Linked DNA regions of Homo sapiens: region 2 is linked to region 1. The links are contacts of gene promoters, found by promoter capture Hi-C in blood cells and fetal thymus (Javierre and others, 2016). All regions are on one chromosome and are shown on one strand. The core of a region is centred on a gene start or on the middle of the fragment in contact, and the rest is flanking DNA. Distances in the headings are between cores, read along the strand shown.

Region 1 (3,887 bases), core at 879-3,378:
CTTGAAGTCCAGGTCCGTCATTGGTGTCACGTGTTCTGTGGTGACCCCACTTACCCAGAGCCTTGTGGTGCTAGTGATGCATGAATGAACCCACAAAAGGCTGGCACTAGAGGAGAGATTAGATATCATCCAGTATCGATTCAGGAAAACTCCAATAGTGGTTTCCAATCCTCCTCCAACTGCACCAATCACCTGGGAAGCTTTTTTTTTTTTTTTTCAAATGCAGAGTCTCAACTTTGCAATGGATTTTATATTAAACACTATTGTATCACATTAAAATCTTCGGACATGATAATGACATTGTAGTTACACATGGGAATGTCCTTGCTACATGATGACGTACTTAGGGTTAAATATGGTGTTGACAGATATTTTTCAGGTGATTCTGTAATGTGTGTATGTGCATGCTCACAGAGAGAGAGCAAGAAAATGTGACCAGTGCTGGGGACGGGTGAATCTGTTAGTCCAAACTGCACCATTTTGTAAGCCCCCTGCCATTTTGCAGACCTTGCTTAAAGTGAAACATTCCACGGGGGTTCAGGCAGTGAGAAACAGCCTGCCTCTTATCATATTCTGCTGGGAGAAAGTGACAGGAACATCACGTTCCACCAGAACAAGGGCCAAACTGCCTCATCATGGGAATACCTTATCAACATCTTCCCGGGCAGCAGGCCATACCCACCGGGCCCCTCCCCGCCCAGGCCTATAATTTCTCCAGCCTGTAAGCAGCGGTAGGCACTGGCATTAAGCTGGTCTCCCACCTCTGTAGGTCTCATGCTGGACATAAAGCCTGAATTTGCTGTAGAGCCGCCACTCTTTCTTTAACCCTCCCCTTCCCTTCAAAATCTAACCGAATCTAGGTGAAGCCTATATGTATTTTCATTGTATTCTTCTTTCGACTTTCAACTTTTCTGTAGGTTTGAACTTTTTCACCAAGTTGTGGGTGGGTGGGTAAGGGGATTTTTAAAAATGCAGCATCTGGCCTGGTGAGGTGGCTCATGTCATTATCAGAGCAAGACTCCGTCTCTTAAAAAAAAAAAAAAAAGGAGAGCCTCAGATGCCATTTCCAGATATTCTGATTTAGTGAGTCTGGGGTGAGTCCTGTGAATCTTCGTTTTTCTTTTTTTGGCACATGGTCTCATTCTGTCATCCAGACTGGAATGTAGTTGCCGAAACACGGCTCATTGTAGTCTCAACCTCCTCAAGTGATCCTCCTGCCTCAGCCTCCCCCATAGCTGGGACCACAGGTGTGTGCCAGCACACCTGGGTAATTTTTTTAATTTTTGGTAGAGATGAGACCTCACCATGTTGCCCATGCTGGTCTCAAACTCCTGGGCTCAGGCCATCCTCCCTCCTAGGCTTCCCAAAGCAATGGGATTACATGGGTGAGCAGCCAAGCCCAGCCCAAATCTGTATTTTTCAATTTCCCTTCATTCTGTTGCTTAAATTTGGGAACCATTGATGTAATCCAACTCTAGCGTTTCCTTGTCACCCATCTCACAGGAAAAAAAGAAAAAAAGCCCTTAGGATCCAAGAGGGTGACTTGCCCGAGTCCTCCCAGTGGGTCAGCATCAGCATCAGGCTTGGAATGCATTTAGTGCTCTGTCTCAGGTGTGTGTGTGGCGCAAAGAGCAGAGGTGGGGAGGGGTTGTGAGTGGAATGGGGGTGAGCAGAGGATGGAGTCTTCGACTTGGAAGACAAATGTAAATGACCCTCTATGAGCCACGCCGCTTTGAACGCAACCCACTGGAGATTCTCGGTTCTCCTGTATCGATTCAGGAAAACTCCAAACAAGTCCACACTGGTAGCCACCAAGAGTTTCTTGAAAGAAAAGTACAAGCCGAGCCGGGCTCTGTTGGCGTCCCGTCGCCAAGGAGACGGGCCGTTGCATTCGTCCTCCAGGGGTGGTCTTGGTTTTCTTTCCTCTCCCAGTCTGCAACGCGGGGCCCAGGAGACGCCCTGAGGATCCCGCGGGGCTCCTGCATTGCTCCGGGGCTCTTTGCGATGAGGGGCCGGCGCGAGCGGGGCGCGCCTGGCTCCGGAGGGGTCCTGGCATCTGAGTTTCCCCCTCAGGATCCCGGTGGTGCGGCCCGGGCCGCCCGGCAGGCCCTTCGGAGCTCCAGGCTGTGCCCGACGTGGGGAAGCGCGCCCAAACCAGCCCGCGGGCCGGCTCCCCGGCGACCTCAAGGATGCCAGAGGCCAGGAGCTCCGGCCCGGACCTCACGCGATGGAGGAAGCAGCAGCAGCCTGTGCGCCGCACGGTCAGCCAGGTCTGCCCGCCCCCGCGGCGGCCCCTGACCGTGGCGGACATCCGTTCCGGCATGGAGAACGAGCGGCTGGGGGTCGTGCGGGACTCCATGTTTCAGAACCCTCTCATCGTCAAGGTGAGCACCCCACGCCCACCGCGCTTTCGCTGTCGCCGGCTCCGGGCACCTGCGCCGCCGGGGGTCCCCACCCGCAGCGCCCTGGCCCCGCGGCCCGGGGTCCGAGCGCAGCGTGGGAAGCTCCAGCTCTGGTCCAGACAGGCCTGGACCCCCATGCAGGTCGCGTCGCCTCTCTCAGCCTCGGTTTCCCCATCCTCACAGTGGGATGATAATGGCACCACTAAAGGGACTGATTGGGAAGATTGAATAGGGTAATTTCTGCGGGACCTCGGGACAGCGCCTGACATGGGGTAAGGCTGCAATGGGTGCTGCTGTGGTTTCCCACAGAGTGAACCCACAGGGTGACAGATAGGTCGCACACGCCCAGTCTAAGTCGTGGCTGCCAGCCCTCCCAGGGTAAAGGCCGCCTCTCCGGTTCCGCTGCACGCCTGGGGTACGTCTATGCAGCGGTGGCTCCGTGTCTGTCCTGGAAGCATCACGTCGAATGTTCATTTCCGTTCGATCATACTAATTTCTTACCCAAATTACAACCCTAAGAGAAAAAAAGCATAATCTTTGGCCTAGGAGGCTCCGCAGACAAGAATGAGGGAGCTGCGGTTTCGGGCTGGATCACTTTCCCTTCCATTACACTTCCCTCCTCCCCACCTTTAGCCTCGCTTCCCGCTGATGGGAAACCAACACTGCTGTGGCGGCCACACCTTCCCGGGGGCCACTGGAGAAGTCAGGCTGAGGCTTGGGGGTCAGGGAGCAAGCCTCGAGGCGAATTTATCTTGCGCCGCTGGAGGGCAGTGCGCCTTTAAAAATGCGCCCCGCGTCCCAGGTGCGGGAGTGGAAGGCGCAGGTGGTAACCGTGGATTCAACAACAATTATTTGTGTGACCGCCAGGCGCTGAGTAGAGCCCAGAGGTGGTGGTGGCGGTTTGTTTTTGTTTTGGGGAAAAGGGAACCCGTGCTAGAATTAACTGAGTTAATTGGCTCCTGGCAAAACATTGACTCCCTCCTCTTGCCTTCCCTAAACTCGGTCCTGAGAGGAGGAAGGATACTGCCTAGGCGCAGGCTGCACCTGGGGGAGGCTGGCTTCCCACACTCGTGCCTTTCCATCGAATAGGCTCCTTTCTTAGGCCTCTCAAAGTGGAACAAGGTCCTTCACTTACTTCTACGTGAGAAGAGCCACTCTGAGTGGACAGGCAGGACAGGCAGGTGGGGCCCATTATTCTTGGATGAAGGAGAGAATCACGTCCGCCACCTCTGACTACCTGCATTAAGGTTAGGTCGTTGCTTTTGTTCAAGTAGTTAGTAGTGAGCCAACTTCTTCCTACTGAAGTGTAAAGTGAGGGCGTATGGAGTTATTCTCCATGGTGAGTTAGTGTGTGGTGCCCACGCTGAGCAATATGTACACACACACACACACACACACACACACACATACATGCATATGCATTTGTGTATGCACCCATATAACATACCGTTTACATCTATCATATATACATGTATGCATATGTAT
Region 2 (3,887 bases), core at 650-3,149, 360 kb after region 1:
TAGATAGAAGGAATAAGTTCCAGTGTTTGATAGCACAGTAGGGGGACTATGGTTAACAATAATTTATTGCATATTTCAAAATAGCCAGAAGAGATTTGAAATGTTCCCAAAATAAAGAAATGATAGATGTTTAAGGTGACGGACATCTTAAATATCCTAACATGATCATCGCACGTTATATGCATGTACCGAAATATCACATGTACCCTCATGAATATGTACCATTATTATCTACCAATAAAAAATCAAAATCATTAACTTTTTAATTTTTTTTTTTTTTTGAGACGGAGTTTCGCTCTTGTTGCCCAGGCTGAAGTGCAATGGCGCCATCTCAGCTCATTGCAACCTCCGCCTCCTGGGTTCAAGTGATGCTCCTGCCTCAGTCTCCCAAGTAGCTGGGATTACAGGCATGCGCCACCATGCCCAGCTAATTTTGTATTTTTAGTAGAGACGGGGTTTCTCCATGTTTGTCAGGCTGATCTCAAACTACTGACCTCAGGTGATCTGCCCACCTCAGCCTCCCCAAGTGCTGGGATTACAGGCGTGAGCCACCGTGCCGGCCAACTTTTTAATTGTTTATGCCTTTTGGATCAGCAATTCCATTTCTATGAATTTTCCCCAAGGAAATGATCAAAACATATGCAAAAACAAATACAAATGCATATGTGTGTGTATATATATGAATGCTAGTTGTTGCATTGTAATAGAAAAAACAGGAAACACATGTCTGCTAACAGAGGGTATTTAAATACATTATAATACATCTGGACAGTCTCATGCTATGCAAACACCTAGTGAGCTGTATCTTTATGCAGTGATAGGGAAAGATGTCCATAATATTTTATTAAGTGAAAAAGCAAGTTACAGAAGGATATATGCAAGATTTTATTTGTCGTTAAAAATCTCCATGTTTTAAAACCCACTGGAAGATGAGTCCCAGCCACACCACTGCAAGGCTTCCTTAATTGGTCCAATCATCTATTTATTAGAGTGAGTGCAATACAGTTCCTGCCCGCATGGGGGGAAACAGGCTGGGAGGAGGGCCAGGGGCAAGTAAGTGCTAGGAGGGGAAATGGGAGGGGGCTGGGCGGGCACTGTGGGGAGGGGCAGGGGTTCCCAAGGCAACGTCGAAATCTCCAAATACAGTGGGCCTGACGGGGATGACAGAGAGGCTGAAGAGACAGAGCCGTCCTGCACAGTCCAGGCACCACCCTGCCCTGCCACTGCCTGGCGGGCATCTTGAGCTCCAGACCCTTAGCCTCTCCGGGCCCCCCAGTTTTTTCCGGGTAAGAGACTCGAACTGATGCTCTCTAAGGATTCTTCAAGCTCTGAAATTCTCTGCTGACATTTGCCAGCAGCAAGGTTGACTCGAATCTGAAACCTCTGGGGAAAGTGGGGGCCTCTCCCAGAATGGAACCCTCTCTGAACACTTTCCCGGGAGGGACCTTAGACTGTGCTGCCTGTTGCCAGCGTCGCAGGCAGGAGGAGCGCAGTCACTATGGGTGGGGTGAGTGCATGGGGGAGGGAGTGAAAGAGCAAATGTCCAAGGAAGGGCATAAGAGAAGGGCTCCAGCAAGAATGCAAAGGAAGATTTGTCTAAAATGGCTTTTCAAGGCGGTCATGAGCTTGCCTCTAACCCAGCAAAGCGTGTGGAAGAAACATCGGCAGTGAGGGCTCCCATCTCTCATTTCTCAAAGAGCCGAGACTTTCAGCGAGGCCACTTGCCATTCCTGGTAGGTAATCAGATCGCTGTTAATTAATAAAGCTGTCAGGTGGCTCGTCCTCTCTGGTCATTAGTATCCTTTCAGAAAGAGAATCCTGCCATCACCGCCTTGTCCGCCCCTCCGCTTGCCAGCAATTAACTTAATGCTATGCAAATGAGAGGCTCTTCTCATCATTAGCTTATAGCCACGAATGTTAATCGCATAATTGGGTCTTCAACAGGGTAATTAGACACGATTTCCTCCATTAGTCTTACAAGGCTAATTATTGTTGAGCGGAGAGGGGGACTGCTCCCAGGGCTCCAGGCGAAGAGGGGCATCTGGTTAAAGCGAATTCGGGCGCATCGTCCGCCAGGTAAAAACAGCAGTCGCGATCCATTGTCACAGCCCACTGTCCCCACCCATCGTGGGGACCGGGCTAGGGAGGGAAACGGAACCAGGGGAAGGCCTGGGGGGGTCACACTCGTGCCCCTTGCCTGGGTCCTGGGATGCAGACAACGTGGCATTTAAAAGTGAAAGCGGAAACAAACAGCAGCCCCGCCAGCCCGGGCCCGGAGGCCCAGCCCCGCGCCAAGGGCCACCCCTCGGCGCGCTCAGCTTCCCTGGGCCTCTGCTGCTTCCTCAGTGCCATGAGGACCGCGCTCGATGGCGTCCAGGGGCCTCTGGGTTTGACTTTCATGGCTATGAATCTCGGAATGAATAAAGAGCCCAGAACGCTGGCTGGGGTAGGGGGTGGGGCAGGGGCGAGGGGACACCCTGTGGAGGAGCGGGCTGGGAGCGCGGGGGATGCCCCTCGCCCTGCACGCGCGCCCTGCCCCTGGCTGTAACCTGAGCAGCCCGCGTGAGGGTCAGTGGTGACTTCCGGGATTGAATTGGCTGGGAAGCCGGTCCCATTTCAACAGAGACCTGGGGCAGCGCGGTGGGCAGCGGGCTGGGCCGAGATCGAGACCGGGACAAGGCAGGGAAGAGCGGGATGGGTCGGCCCCTTCAAGGGGAGCCCTGGGGCGCAGTGTGGGGCGGTCTTGCTCCCTGTTGACCCCCATTCCCCCTCCCCTGGATCCAGGAACCCAGTGGGCTCTGGAAGCAGCTGCTGAGTGCACGGCAGACCCCCTGGCATGGGGTTACACCTTCTCTCAGGCCCAGCGGTGTGGGCCTCCCCAGTCAGGGAGATGCTTCCCCCATCTCATCTCAGTGGGGAGGGAGCAGCTGGTGGCCTCGGCAAACGCAGCACAGGAGATGGGAGGGTCTGGCTGAGCAGGGGGCCTCAGGAGGCCTCTGGGAAGCCAGCAGGGCAGGTGTGGACTTAGTGCCAGGGTGACCTGAAGACTCTGCGCTCAGCGGCTCAGAGCACAGGAGTCCAGGGACTCCGTCTCAGTCCGAGTCCGTCTCCACTGCCATGATGTGCTGTGTGATGAGGGCAAGACACTCAGCCTCTTGGAGCCTCAGTTTCCTCAGCTGAAAGGTTCGGGTGATGCACCCTTTCCTGGTCTTGCTGGAAGGACTAGGAGGGAAGAGGTAGGCCAGGTGCACAGCCCAGGGCCTGGCCCTCCTGCCCACAGGAGACAAGAGACTATGGAGGAAAGTGCTATGGCAGATGGTGGTCAGGCTTACACTGTGAGAATTATGTCCCTGTCAACAGAACGGGCCAGGAATCATGCACATGGCAGCCCTCTCTGGATGTTTTTACGAGATTCTGTTTATGAAAATGTGTCGCCTTCCCTGGATCGTACAATCCTCCATCTTTATATGCTTAAGCCCCTACCACAGGCTCTCAATAAGGCCATTAAGGGGTCCTTCATGGACTGAAAGGGCGCCTCTTGTAAAGAAACAAACCCCAAGGTGTCACTTGATTGAAATGTGAAGGCAGAATGAAGGTAAGCTGGAGAGTACTGGGTCTCCATCCATCTAGCATGTTCTGACTGCAATTCCCTTCAAAAGGCTCAAGGCTCCCACCTTGTTATGGCGGTGTGGCTCCATTATGAATGGCCAGGGCCATTGACAAGCAGCGTCGTGTGGTGTGAGGTCACCAGAGGGGAAAGGCTAGGACGGAGCTTCCTTTCAGAGCCTGTGTATCAGTCTGTTTTCACGCTGCTAATAAAAACACACCTGAGACTGGGTAATTTATACAGGAAAGAGGATTAATGGACTGACAGTTCCACATGGCTG

What was found. Contacts are between HindIII fragments. The CHiCAGO score rates a contact against its expected background, and 5 or more counts as called.
Region 2: a fragment that was not itself captured here is called in contact with the fragment with the promoter of CFAP77 in region 1 in 3 of 17 cell types (activated CD4 T cells, naive CD4 T cells and naive CD8 T cells); the score reaches 5.9 in activated CD4 T cells.

Annotation. Positions count from the first base shown.
Region 1 is chr9:132,408,083-132,411,969 of GRCh38, forward strand. CFAP77 (cilia and flagella associated protein 77) reads left to right here and starts at 2,129. Exons shown (of 6, transcript NM_001282957.2): 1 at 2,129-2,384. The coding sequence starts at 2,190. LOC105376304 (a long non-coding RNA gene) reads left to right here and starts at 2,559. Exons shown (of 3, transcript XR_930405.2): 1 at 2,559-3,649. RefSeq lists a silencer at 3,237-3,286. The HindIII fragment of the contact is 3,866 bases long and covers 199-3,887 here.
Region 2 is chr9:132,768,004-132,771,890 of GRCh38, forward strand. The region is part of intron 11 of AK8 (adenylate kinase 8); the gene reads right to left. Among named protein-coding and RNA genes, the nearest start is that of GTF3C4, 99 kb to the left of the region's middle. RefSeq lists enhancers at 1,969-2,028, 2,139-2,433 and a silencer at 2,299-2,598. The HindIII fragment of the contact is 5,506 bases long and covers 1-3,887 here.